2 separate regions of the Homo sapiens genome follow, and region 2 is linked to region 1. Evidence: promoter capture Hi-C in human tissues and cell types (Jung and others, 2019). All regions are on one chromosome and are shown on one strand. The core of a region is centred on a gene start or on the middle of the fragment in contact, and the rest is flanking DNA. Distances in the headings are between cores, read along the strand shown. Region 1 holds the start of JMJD4 (jumonji domain containing 4). Region 2 holds the start of RNF187 (ring finger protein 187).

The links. The method cuts DNA at HindIII sites, captures the fragments that hold promoters and counts their contacts. A contact is called where the count stands out against the background at its distance.
Region 2: the fragment with the promoter of RNF187 here is called in contact with the fragment with the promoter of JMJD4 in region 1 in 1 of the 25 tissues and cell types used here (neural progenitor cells).

Annotation. Positions count from the first base shown.
Region 1 is chr1:227,734,052-227,740,870 of GRCh38, forward strand. It overlaps JMJD4 (jumonji domain containing 4), which reads right to left and starts at 1,251. Exons shown (of 6, transcript NM_023007.3): 1 at 961-1,251; 2 at 600-765. The coding sequence starts at 1,222. SNAP47 (synaptosome associated protein 47) reads left to right here and starts at 1,384. Exons shown (of 5, transcript NM_053052.4): 1 at 1,384-1,448. RefSeq lists silencers at 773-972, 1,433-1,722 and an enhancer at 6,643-6,819. The HindIII fragment of the contact is 38,393 bases long and covers 1-6,819 here.
Region 2 is chr1:228,483,958-228,490,776 of GRCh38, forward strand. RNF187 (ring finger protein 187) reads left to right here and starts at 3,425. Exons shown (of 4, transcript NM_001010858.3): 1 at 3,425-3,921; 2 at 5,003-5,095. The coding sequence starts at 3,532. RefSeq lists enhancers at 2,303-3,164, 2,484-2,863, 3,165-4,025, 4,143-4,871, 4,872-5,599 and 1 more and silencers at 3,484-3,603, 3,864-4,063. The HindIII fragment of the contact is 28,484 bases long and covers 1-6,819 here.

The DNA.
Region 1 (6,819 bases), core at 1-2,500:
GCACCACCGACAGCACGTGAGGCACGAGGAGACTAGGGCAGCACGAGTGGGGCAACTGAGACCAATCGGCTCCAGTGGAGCTTCCAGATGGCTGCAGCCCCCAAAGAGCCCCAGACCCTCCTCTGAGCCAGACGCTGCTGGCGGGGGAGGGGGCGGGGCAGTCTGACTACAATGGTTCTGCTTATTAGAAAGTACTGATCATGCCTATAATCCCAGTGCTTTGAGATGCTGAGGTGGATGCATCACCTGAGCTCAGGAGTTCAAGACCAGCCTGGGCAACATGGTGAAACCTAGTCTCTTTAAAAAAAAAAAAAAAAAAAAAAAAAGCCGGGAGTGGAGACGCCTTCCTGTAATCCCAGGTACTAGGGAGGCTGAGGAGATCTCTCTCAAAAAAAAAGGAAAAAAAACCATATTGACCTCCCAAAGAACAACACTTGCAGCCATGCGGAAGACAATCCAGTTTCTTTTAAACTGATTAAAGTGCCTCACGGGGAAAAATAGCTCCGTTGTGCACCCAGGGGCCACCTTCATCAGAAAGGCCTCTGGGTTCACGCAGCGCTAGGGAAGGCAGCGCCTCGGTGCGTCCCAAGCCCCATTACCTGCACAAGTGCCAGTCTTTGAGGTAGAGACAGCCCCTGGGAGAGGAGTAGCCCGCCTGTATGTACTCTTTCCAGTAGGTGATGTAGTCTCTGAGAGTCATGTGCTCTTTGGGGTTCGAGTTGTATTCCTGGACCCCACAGTTTGCAACTGGTACAACCACGTCTCCTGAAATGAAAGGCACGGTCCATGCCATCTCCCTGGGCCCCGTCCTCACTCCAAACCGTCTGCAGAGGAACTCTCCAGGGGCCACGCGCCTGGCCTCCCTCACCCTCCCTGGTGCCCCTCTCTAGGCGGGGGCCTCCCGGGCCTGGGTCCCGCCGGCCTTTCCTCCCCGCCCGGGGTCTGCGGCCGCCGCCCCACCGTAGGTCCGTAGCAGGTGGTCGAAGTCGGGCCTCCCCGCGGGCGTCACCCAGCGCCGCCGGCTGCCCCAGCCCTGCGTGAAGGCGCTGGAAAACACGCAGGGCAGGTTGGGCAGCAAGAAGCCCCGCACAAAGTCGGCGTAGGAGAAGGCGCCCGGCTCCGAGACGAAGGCTACCCGGCCCGGAGCCTGGCCGACGCCGGGGACATCGACCCCCAGGCCTCGGAAGTGGCTGTCGGCGAGGGCGCGCGTCTCGCGGTCCATCCAGCTCAGCACGGGTCGAAGGACCCTCCTCCTCACTTCCGCCGGAGCGGAAACGGTGAGGACCAGCCTCGGAACCAGAAGACGCAGGGCGCCGCGTTTCTGCCCCGCCAGCGCCTGGGGCTCCGGGCCTGCACGCATGCGCGCGGCTCGCCGCGGTCTTCACTGCGCAGGCGCCGAGCGGCCGAGGCGCCGCGGTCGGCTCTGGGACTCGTCTGGCGTCCCTCAGGTGAGCGACGGTGTTGGTCTGTTGGGCGCCCGGCCCAAGCCAAGCCGTAGCGTCCGCCCTCGGCTCAGTCCGCGCGCTGTGGCTGACACAGCCCGAGCCCTCCTTCCCGCATCCCCGGGGGGTGGGGGGTATGCGGGCTGCGCTGGGAGAGGGGCGGGGACAGAGGCGGTTCTGGGGGCGGGAGTGCGGCGGTGCGGGGGCGCCCAGGGATGATGGGACCCGGAGAGAACGGTGGGACCCAGAGGGAGAGCTGGGGGGCCCTGGGATGGTGGGATCTAGCGGAGATGGTAGGGTCCTGGAGGAGATGGTGGGGACCTGGAGAGGACGGTGGCACTTGGAGGGGATGGAGACGGGATCTGGAGGGGACGGTGGGACCTGGAGGGGATGGGGACAGTGGGGACCTGGAGAGGACGGTGGGATCTGGAGGGGATGGGTACAGTGGGGACCTGGAGAGGACGGTGGGGACCTGGAGAGGACGGTGGCACTTGGAGGAGATGGGGACATTGAGGACCTGGAGGGGACAGTGGGGATTTGGAGGGGACGGTAGCACTTGGAAGGGATGGGGACAGTGGGTTCCTGGAGGGATCAGTGGCACCTGGAGGGGACATGGGATCTAGAGAGGATGGTGGGGACCTGGAGGAAAATGGTGGGAGGGCTGGAGGGGGCAGGGTAACCTAGATGGGCGAATGGGGCCCACAGGGGACCTGGAGGGCATGGCAAGGGGCCCCAGGGGATGACGGGTGTCTGGAGAAGATGGTGGGGAATGAGGGAGGGTGTGAAATGAAGGTGTGGTGGGAGTGTGGGTAGGGATTTGGGGCTGTGTACACATGAGCAGGGCTGAAGTGGGAGGACATCGGAGTAGTGACATGAGGAGTGTTTTGCCAAACTTGCAACTGGAGTTACCCCAAAAGTGGCGGCAAGGGAGTTCCCCACACTATCCTCAGGTGGGACCAGTTGGGATACCAAAGAAAGAAGTGCTAAATGCATGGTAAGCCCAGAGCAGTTTTTTTTTTTTTTTTTTTTTTTTTTTTTTTTTTTGAGACAGTATGCAGTGGCACCATCACAGCTTACTGCAGCTTCCACCTCCTGGGCTTGATGAATTCTTTAATTCTGCTTCAGCCTCCCAAGTAGCTGGGACTACAGGCATGAGCCACTATGCCCAGCTTAGTTTTGTTTTTTTGTTTTTGTTTTTTTTTTTTTTTTTTGTAGAGACAGGGTCTCTGTGTTGCCCAAGCCGGTGTTGAACGTTTGGGCTCAAGCAATCCTTCTGCCTTGGCCTCCCTAAGTGCTGGGATTACAGGTGTGAGCCACTGCGCCAGGCCCTGCCTAGAGGTTTTGTTAGGGGAACTTTCATATAGAGTGGGCTGCGGTAGTCCTCGAGACGGGCAGTAAGGGAAAAGGGATGTCCTCCCTAGGTATGTCTCTTGGAAGGGGTGTGGGTTATGGAGTTTATAGGAAGGTTTCAGGAATTTGGCTCAGGGCCAAGGCCGTTTTCTTTGTAGTAAACCTAGATACTTTCTTCCATGCCTGGAAATGTTAAAGGCCCTGGATTGGGTTGAAGCCTGGTGGGGAAAACCTGTGGTTGGGGCACAGAGGGATCAGGGTACTCTGTGATTTTCGGCCAGGACACGAAAGTGGGGCCATGGGGGACCCTATGTGATGTATGTCTTGGTGTGCTGGAGAAATCAGCTCAAAGCTACCCACATGGATGCAGAAGGAAAGATAGCAGATTTATTGCCCCCGAAGCCTGGCAGGCTGTGTGCACATAGGTGCTCTGCGAGAGAGTGCAGAGTCTGGGCAGCATTTCCCAGGCGTCTTGACAGGGAGGTGGAAGGAGGAACAGTTAGAACCGCTCATCTCTCCCAGAGAAATGAGAGGCAGCTTGTGCTGGTTTGCACACAGTGCGAGGCCTTTGAGTTAGGTTTGGAGGTCTGATGACATTCTAGGGGCCATCAGACCATGACTGTGTCTTGTAAAATCTGGACACTGGGCTATCTCATTCCAGACCAAACAGAGGCATCCTAAGCGGGAGAGGGGCACCTGCCTTCCCTTTATGAAGCAATGGAAATGTTGTTTTATTTACTCTTATAAGTGGGGATATGGGAGGTTCTAGGAGTGCTGGGGCTCTGAGCCTTGCTGGAAGACTCTTTCCAAGGGGTGTGAGGTTTACCCAGGAGAACAGGGAGGAGCAGAAGAGGGAGGACCAAGGTCTGAGGAGTTGGAGGGAGGACTAGGAGGAAAGTGAGTTTTGGGAGTCTGAGTCCAGGTAAAGGTGGGATATGAGGGCAGGGACAGGAGGCGGAGAGTTGTTTTGGGGATTGTGTGATTCAGTGCGTGCTATGGTCCCTTCCTAGTCAGCCCTATTGTGGCTTGTGTGATCACGGTATGCAATTGTTTATTGGGGTTTTTTTTACACTAGAGAATCAGAATGTCTGGAGAAGTTACAGTTGCAGAGAAAGAATCACCTCCAGTTCCGTCCAGAGATGACTGGGGTTTTTTTGCTTTGGTTTTTTTTGGTTTTTTTGTTTTTTGTTTTTTGTTTTGTTGTTTTTGCTGTTTTGAGACCGCGTCTTATTCTGTCACCCAGGCTGGAGTGCAATGGCATGATCTTGGCTCACTGCAACCTCCGCCTCCCAGGTTCAAGTGATTCTCCTGCCTCAGCCTCCTGAGTAGCGAAGATTACAGGCGCGCACCACCACGCCCAGCTAATTTTTGTATTTTTAGTAGAGACGGGGTTTCACCATGTTGGTCAGGCTGGTCTCGAACTCCTGACCTTGTGATCTGCCCGACTCGGCCTCCCAAAGTGCTGGGATTACAGGCGTGAGCCACCGCACACCCAGCCGAGATGACCGTTTTTTATTCCTGGTGTAGAGCCGGCTTTTCTACATTCCTTCACACATACATTCATTCATTCATTCATTCTCTCTCTCCACTCTTCTCTCCCCCCAGTCCTTGCCTATACGTTCACGCACATGTATGCACACACACTCACACATACACAGTCTCTTTCTCCATCGTGTATAATATACATATATAAACTTTTGCTGCTTTTAGTCTTTTGTTTTTTATTTAACAATATGCTGTAACATCTTGCCACATATTGACCTCAATATTGACAATTAATTGACCTTAATTGATCTTGCCACATATTGTTCCTTAATTGCTAGTAGTCATTTGATTTTGGTTGTGGTGCATGCAGATCATGGGAGGCCAATGGGGAAGATGTGGGGAGCAGAGTGTTTATAATTGTCTCAAGATCTTGGAATATGGTTCCGAGTTTGCCTCATGGGGAAACTGAAATTCAGGTGGGCATTGCCTGGAAGGAGTTCCTGCAGCTCCGTGGTTGAGCCTGTTTCCTAAGAAAGGAGCATTTGGGCTAGCAGGTCCACAGCTCCCTGAGATCACTGAGCCCCTAGGACTTGGTGGGAGATGGAGCTCTCGTTCTTGAGATGGAACTCTGTGGTTTAGTTCGCTGGTCCGCAGGGTGCCCCCTCGGGTCAGTGTCACCACTGTATACGCAGGAGGCCTGGAGTGTTATCAGCTCTCATGGGACTGGAACATAGGCTTGTGTCACCCAGAGCCCGCTAGATCAGCCCTGGCATCGCTTGGGAATGGCAAGAAATCCACATTCTTGGGCCCCACACAATACTCCATTAGGATGGTTTTTTGTTTTTGTTTTAAAACGGGGTCTTCCTCTGTCACTCAGGCTGGAATGCAATAGCGCTATCTTGGCTCACTGCAACCTCTGCCTTCTGGGCTGAAGTGATCCTCCACCTCAGCCTCCCAGAGTGCTGAGATTACAGGTATGAGCCACTGTGCCTGGCCAGGACGGGTTTTAAGTCAGCACTTTGGAGAAAATGCAGTACGCTTTGTGCCGAATATGTGCTCCTCTGTCACTGTGTTGCATGCAAACAGCCCCAGTGAGGGTGTCTGCACTTTGTGGCTAGAGTTGGGAACCTCTGAGGGAGTGGAAAGAGGGTCTGAGGAGCAGGGGAGGGGAGCCTGGAAAGATTGGCCGCACCCTACCGCCCCTGTGGGCACACACAGCCACCACTGTTCTCACTTAGCTTCTTGGTTGCGAGGTAGTGGAAGGTGTGCAAGATGTTTGTTCTGTGACTGCGGAAATTAACTAAAAATAAGTTGTTTACTGGGTACTGAGCCTCACTCAGGGGACCCTTGAGTGATGGAAATGCTGAAAGAGACCCATTGTACAGATCGCCCTGCGTGCTGAGCCATCCCTGTGCTGCAGACTTCCTCCCCAAGAGCGTCACTTGTGTGGGTTGGCTGCAGACACCCTTGGGCCCCTGGCCATGACCTCCCTCGAGGATTCAGCTGTGTGTTCTCAGGGTCAGCGCGGGTCCCCAGGCCCACACCTGCACTGGAGGAAGGAGGTTGCAGATTGCAACAGGCAGGGACACCGTGAGGGCTCCAGGACCTGGACTGATTGCAGAACTATGTGGTACAGGAGGGCATAGGCACAGCTCTGTTTCCATGTGGTGTGGTTGTGGTCAACTCAGCACAAATTCATTGGGTGCCCATGGTGTGTAGCGGGCCTTGCGGCCCTCCCATGATAGTGCCTTCTGTAGTGCGACAGTCATGAAAGCACCAACTCTCTGGAGTTTTGCTTGGGCCATGGTTGGTGACAGTGCCTTAGGAAGGCGAGGAAGCCCTCCGAACAGAGACCTGCGGAGTGGAGCCACCAATGAGACTCCCTGGTGTGGAAAGGCTGCTGGGAGCAGAGGGCAGGGGAAGGCCAGGGCAGGGAGGCCGCAGGTCCTGCAGAGTCCATGAGGCTGCGGTAAGGAACTTGGATCTCATTCCAAGTACACAGGGAAAGGCTTTGGGCAGAGAAGTGACATATTCTAATTCTGTTCAATGACTATCTCATTGACTGCTGGAGGGGGAATGGGTGATGGGGACAGGATGAGGTCAGGAGGTTGCCTGAGATGTTGTCCAGGTGTGGAGGGAGGGAGGACTGCCTTGGATGGTGGAACTGTGGAAAGTAACTAAAAGTAGATTGTTTCCTGGAGATTGAGTCTCATTCAGGGGGCACACATATAATGGAAAGACTGAGAGAGACCCATTGTACAGATTGCAGTGTGTGATGAGTGAGTCCCTGTGACTACAACACCTTCCCCCAAGTGTGTTGCTTGTGCTGGTTGGCCCAGACAATGCCTGTGCCAGGTCAGTGATGTGGTCTTGGGGTGGAGGGTGGGGACACAGCTGCCAGGACATGCTCATGGCATGTTTCTTGAGGGGGAGGAAGAGAGGAGTCAGAAGTCCTGGGCCCGTGGTGACTTTACTGAGAGAGGAACTGACTCTGGTGCTGCTACACTGGGGTGCCCATTAGGGGTGGGAGGAGGTGCCCAGC
Region 2 (6,819 bases), core at 2,175-4,674, 750 kb after region 1:
TCCCTCCCTTCCTTTCTCTCTTTCTTTCCTTCCTTCTTTTTCTCCTTCCTTCCTTCCTTTTCTTTCTTTCCTTCCTTTCTTCTTTTTCTTTTCCCTTTCTTCCTTCCTTCCTCTCTCCCTCCACTCCTTCCTTCTCTCCCCCACCCCCCGCCCCCACCTCTCTCTCTCTCTCTCTCTCTCTTTCTTTTTTTTAAGACAAGGTCTTAAAAAATTCTCTCATTTCCCAGGCTGGAGTGCAGTGGCATGATCACGGCTCACTACAGGCTCAATCTCCTGTGCTCGGGTGATCCTCCCACCTCAGCCTCCCAAGTAGTTGGGTCCACAGGTGCGTGCCACCACGCCCAGCTAAATTTTAAAAATTTTCTGTACAGACAGGTTCTTGCCATGTTCCCCAGGCTGGTGTTGAACTACTGGGCTCAAGCTATCCACTCACCTCAGCCTCCCAAAGTGCTGGGATTAACAGGCATGAGCCACCTCTCCCAGCCACATTTCTAAACAAAACAAAACAGCCCAATTTTTTACAACCCAATTTTTATTATTTTCATTTCCTGTTATTTTTATAGTTTGTTTTCTAAGAAAAGGAATTCCAATCAGAAAATCCTTAATCGATACTGCTACGTGGATTACAAGAAGCAGTATTCACAGAATCAAGTGTTTTTTTTGTTTGTTTGTTTTCTGTTTTTTGTTTTTTTGAAATGGAGTTTCACTCTGTTGCCCAGGCTGGAGTGCAGTGGTGTGATCTCGGCTCACTGCAACCTCCACCGCCCAGGTTCAAGCGATTCTCCTGCCTCAGCCACCCAAATAGCTGGGATTACAGGCACGTGCCACCATGCCTGGCTAATTTTTGTATTTTTTTTTTTTTTTTGAAACTGAGGGAGTCTTGCTCTGTCGCCAGGTTGGAGTGTAGTGGCATGATCTCGGCTCACTGCAACCTTCGTCTCCCGGTTCCAGCTATTCTCCTGCCTCAGCCTCTCAAGTAGCTGGGACCACAGGCGTGCACCACCATGCCCAACTAATTTTTGTATTTTTAGTAGAGACGGGGTTTCACCATGTTGGCCAGGATGGTCTCGATCTCTTGATCTTGTGATCCACCTGCCTCAGCCTCCCAAAGTGCTGGGATTACAGGCGTGTGCCACCACATCCAGCCTAATTTTTGTATTTTTAGTAGAGATAGGGTTTCACTATGTTGGCCAGGCTGGTCTTGAACTCCTGACCTCAGATGATTCACCCGCCTCGGCCTCCCAAAGTGCTGTGTTTACAGGCCTGAGCCACGGCTCCCGGCCAAGTTTCCTTTTTTTTGTTTGGTCTGCTTACTTAATAGTGGAAAGAAAGAGAGTCTCGTTTTATTTTCCTCTTTCTTAACTGGGCAGAGTGTACATTTTTTTCTCATGTGTGTTCAATCATTTGTGTGCTTTTTTTTTTGTGATTTGAAAAATCCCATGACAAGGTGTATTTTCCATCATGCTTTTCCTTACCTAATTTTATAAACTCTTTGTATATTTGTGGTTACAATGTTCCTAATTTGGCTATTTGCCTTTAATTATAATTTTTGATATTTTCTCATTCACAAGATTAGTTCATTATGAAGTTTGCTCATTTTTTATATTTTTTACTTTTCTCTCCAGCAAGTTCCTAGTTGACTCAACAATATCAGCAAGGCTCGGCTGGAAGCCTCTAATCTTTACTACACAGAAATAACCTCGGTTTACTATTCATGTTTCCCACGGGCATCTAGTGCATTTCCAAGTCGATTTAAAAAATCTTCACAAAGACAAAAATACCTCATTAGATCCTGCGCTTGCTTGGAATACAGATTTATAAAAATTTTTTTTTGTTTTTGTTTTTTAAGACAGAGTCTCGCTCTGTCGCCAGGCTAGAGTGCAGTGGCACGATCTTGGCTCACCGCAACCTCCGACTCCCTGGTTCAAGTGATTCTCCTGCCTCAGCCTCCTGAGTAGCTGGGATTACAGGCATGCGCCACCACGCCCGGCTAATTTGTGTATTTTTAGTAGAGACGGGGTTTCACCATGAGCCAGGATGGTCTCATATCTTGACCTTGTGATCCGCTCGCCTCGGCCTCGCAAAGTGCTGGGATTAGAGACGTGAGCCACGGCGCCCGGCCCAGATTAATTTTTTAAAATGCAAAACTTGCACAATCTTATTTTAACCATGCTTGCTTGTTTTCAAAATAATTAAAAAACAAAAACACAAGATTGCTCTTCCCAAAGGCTTATTTCTTTCCTTTAAATTTATTTTTTAAAGAAAAGCTAACGGCCGGGTGTAGTGGCTCACGCCTGTAATCCCAGCACTTTGGGAGGCAGAGGCGGGTGGATTACGAGGTCAGGAGTTCGAGGCCAGCCTGGCCAACATGGTGAAACCCCGTCTGTACTAAAAATACAAAAATTAGCCGGGCGTCGTGGCAGGCGCCTGCAATACCGGCTACTCGGGGGGCTGAGGCAGGAGAATCGCTTGAACCCGGGACGCGGAGGTTGCAGTGAGCCGAGATCGCGCCACTGCACTCAAGCCTGCCTGGCAACAGAGCGAGGCTGTCTCAAAAAAGAAAGAAAAGCAAAGCAAAGCTAACAAATGCTCTTCTGTCATGCATCATCACAGAATCAATGAGAGCTCCCCCCAGCCAGGAGACAGCGGACAACCAGGGTAGCTTCCCAGGGGGCCAGAGGGAGGCTGCGCGAGAAGAGGCTCAGCGGGATGGGTCCACGCAGGGAGATCCCACGCAGGGTGGGCGTATACGAGTGTCCACGTCCGGAGGGCCGTTCAAGGGCGGGTCCCTGAAGGAAGGGTGCACGCAGGGCACGTCCACGCGGGCAGGCCCGTGCACGCAGGGCGTGCCCATGCAGGGCGGGTCCGTGCAGGATGAGAGCAGCGGAGGAGGCCCACGCAGGCCATTTCCCGCCCCGTCCCCAGCCCACGCGGGCGAGCTACCGCGGGGGTACGCGCAGCTCAGATCCTAGCAGCTTACAAAAACAACCTTTTAAAAATGGAACCTTCAAGTAAAAATAAAACTTTGTTTCCCTCTTTCGCAGGAGTTACTGAAGTAGGAAGGGACAGCCCAGTAAGATTTCAGGATACGACTTGGGCCGGTCCGCAGGCAGTAGAGTGAAGCGCGCAGCTGCCAGGACTTGCGCGGTGACGTGCGCCGCTGCCAGGACCTTGCAGGTGGAGAGCATAGTTGCCAAAATCAAGGCGGAGGAGCGCACCGCCGCTAGGATCCAGGCGGAGAAGCCCACCGCGGCCAGGACCTAAGGATGCAGTACACTGCTGCCAGGATCTTGTCTGTGGAGCGCAGCGCGGCCAGGACCTCCGGCTGCAGCACACCGCTGCCAGGATCTTATCGGCAGAGCGCTCCGCGGTCCGGACCCCGCCCCGTGCGCGTCCCCGACCCCGCCCCGTGCGCGTCCCCGGCGTTGGCGTCTTCGTCCTGTTGCTGGTCTCCGTCCGGTCGCCGGCCGTCTAGGTCTCCGGCCCTCCCCAGCCGCTCCTGCGCCCTTGCCGGCCCCGCCGCCCGCAGCCCTGGCGCTCCCTGCGGGCCCCGCCGAGGCCGCCTGCGCCCTGTGCCAGCGCGCGCCCCGGGAACCGGTGCGCGCCGACTGCGGCCACCGCTTCTGTCGGGCGTGCGTGGTGCGCTTCTGGGCCGAGGAGGACGGGCCCTTCCCGTGCCCCGAGTGCGCCGACGACTGCTGGCAGCGCGCCGTGGAGCCCGGCAGGCCCCCGCTCAGCCGCCGCCTTCTGGCGCTCGAGGAGGCGGCCGCGGCGCCCGCGCGCGACGGCCCGGCCAGCGAGGCCGCGCTGCAGCTGCTGTGCCGCGCCGACGCCGGCCCGCTCTGCGCCGCCTGCCGTATGGCTGCGGGCCCCGAGCCGCCCGAGTGGGAACCGCGCTGGAGGAAGGCGCTGCGCGGCAAGGTGCGCGCCGCGGGGTCCCGTGCCCCACCCCGGACGGTGCCCTGCGCCTCTCCGCCCCCGCCCCGGTCCCCCTGAGCCCTGGGCCCTTCCCGTCTCCACTGTTCCTGTCCCCGGATTGTCCCCGTCCCCGGATTGTCCCCCTCCCCTCACCGCCACGGGTCCCCTCTCCAGCGTGTGCTGGGCCCCTCCCTCCTGCGGCTTGCCTCCCCATATTTCCTGCGTCTCTTCGGAGTCTGGTCCCCTTCCCCGTCTTGGTGTCCCCTGCTGGGCGGTGCCTTATCTCCCCACCCCCTACCTTCTACGAAGTCCTTCCCCCACCAGCGCCCATCTTTGTGGTCCCATCACTAGCTGTGCCCTGTCTCGCCCTCATAGACCCCCTCTAGTTCCTACAGATTGACTCCTCCACTCACTCTTCCCTTGGGGGAGACATCACGCCTCTTGCCCCTCTGTATTCCACTGTGTCCACAGGCCTGGCCCACCTTCTCGTCTGCTCCCCGGGCCACCCAGCCCTCGCCTGCACCCCCTGTCCCCTCTCCCATCTTTCAGAAACCCGCTCTGAGAGTCTGGCAGCAGCGGGTCCGGGAGTCTGGAGCCTTGCCCATGGCGGGTTGGTTGTGGGACACAGAATAGGAGACAACAGCCAGCCTGGGGTCCTGCTCTTCAATACAGGGGAGGGGAAGCCAGCCAGACTGTGTCCCTGGGTGCTCCTCCTGCATTGGGGGTCCTGCCACCGGGCAGAGCGACCCCCATCCGGCTCAGGCAGGGCAGGGTGTAGGGCAGGCTGTGCAGACCTTTGGTACAGGCCGAACTCACACTGAACAGGGCCACTTACAGACACAGAACTCCTAAACCCACCTAGACAGTCCCCTTAGCCCCAGCACCCAGATCCTTCTGAATAGGTGTGAAGCCCAAGAAACCTTTTGACTGCCTGTGCGTTCCTGCCCTAGACAACCGGGCTTCGAGGTTATCTCTGGGATGGTCAGACTGTGTGCAGTCAGCTGGGGTGATGTCCCTCAGTACTGGGCTGGGTTGGGGGACCCAGAGCTTCTGCCCACCCCTGGTGACCTTCTTTTCTTTACAGGAGAACAAGGGGTCTGTGGAAATCATGAGAAAGGACTTGAATGACGCCCGGGACCTGCATGGCCAGGCAGAGTCAGCAGCTGCAGTGTGGAAGGCAAGTGGGGGGACCTGGGGCAGCCTGGAATGAGGGGACTGTGGGCTCAGGGCTCTAGACAAAGGGACCACCAGGCCAAGTGGGCCAGGCCTCTGAACTGCTCAGCTGGTTGGTTGGAGGAGGGGCCTCTGGACTTAAGTGAGCTTCAGGGTATTTTTTTTAGGATGTGTTTGTATTTCTCAAATAGAATCTAGCCAAAGCCAGTGGAAGCCTCTTTTTCTCCTCACATTTTACCTGTAGGTGATGGCAGCATCAGACTTCTTTTTTTTTTCCCAAGAGACAGAGTCTCACTTCATTACCCAGGCTGAAGTGCAATGGCATGATTGTAGCTCACTGCAGCTCGAACTGGCCTCAGGCGATCCTCCCACCTCAGCCTCTGGGACTATAGGCACGTGCTACCACACCTGGTTAATTTTAAAATGCTTTTCTAGAGGTGGGGGTCTTGCTGTGTTGCCCAGGCTGGTCTCAAACTCCTGACCTTAAGCGGTTCTCCCGCCTTGGCCTCCCAAAGTGCTATTTTTTTTTTCTTTTTTAGAACACATCTGTAATTTTCTGTGGTCCTCTTGTTCTGATCTGAGAGTTGCTCATTATTTTTTAGAGGCTAGAAGTCCAAGATGAAGGAACTGGCAGATTCCCTGTCTGGTGAGGGCGTTTCCTGGTTCATAGATGGTGTCTTCTCACTGTGTCCTCACATGGTGGAAGAAGTGAGGGTGTCTCTGGGGCCTTTGTGTAAGGACACTGATTCCGTTCTTGAGAGTTCCACCCTCACAACCTCATCACCTCCCAAGGGTCCTGCCTCCTAACGCCATCACCTGAGGGATGAGGATTTCAGCATGGGGATTTGGGGAGGACACAGACATTCAGACCAGAGCAGCGTTACTTTCCTTGGGTGCCTTCCACAGTATTATATCCCAAGGGGACATCCCATAGATTCTTTTAGGTTACTCACCAGTAAAGCTCTTTAGTCGTTTAAACTCTATTTGGTGACTTTTTCCTCGTGTAGTAAAAACCTGTGTGCCATTTTCTCTGCGTTTCATAAATTCCTATCTCCTTCTTTTAACCTGAAAGACAGAGTGCTTTTCACAGGTGCAGCAGCTCTTGGGTAACTGGCTGCATCTCGAGGCTGAGGCCCACGTTTTTACCCCAGCTTGAGGCTGAGGTGGGCTCTGTGCTCCTGGTGCTGCCAAGCCCTTGCCTGCTATCCACAGGCCTGAGGTGCAGGCCTCCCTCAGACAGTGACGGGTTACACATGGGGTCCCTGATGCCACTCAGACCCCTGGCACTCCACACTGCCCTTGGGGCTGCTCTGAACTTCTCCTTGCCTTGTGAGTGGTCAACACTGCCCAGTGCAAGTGAGGCTGGAAGGCTTTGGGGACCTCCAAGTTTTCAGTAACCCTGTGTTACCCCAAGGGAATTGTTTTGCCCACAGATTTTAGCAGGTTGGAGCTTTCAATCTGTCCTGTTTTGGGGGTTTGTGGCTTAGATGCTGGGATGAGAGAAGCCACCTAAATCCAAAGGAAGGAGTTTGCAGCGTGTTGCATCAGCCAGCCAGCAGACACCCAGCTGTCATTTGCATTCTCAGCAACAAAAGCCTTGGCCCCTCATGACTATGGGTGTCACCTGCCCTGTGTGGCCCAGGGCCAGGTGGAAGCCATCCATGACTGAGTAAAATCAGAGTAGCATCCTGCTCTGCTCTCCTGTTTGCAAGGTTAGGAGTTGGCTGA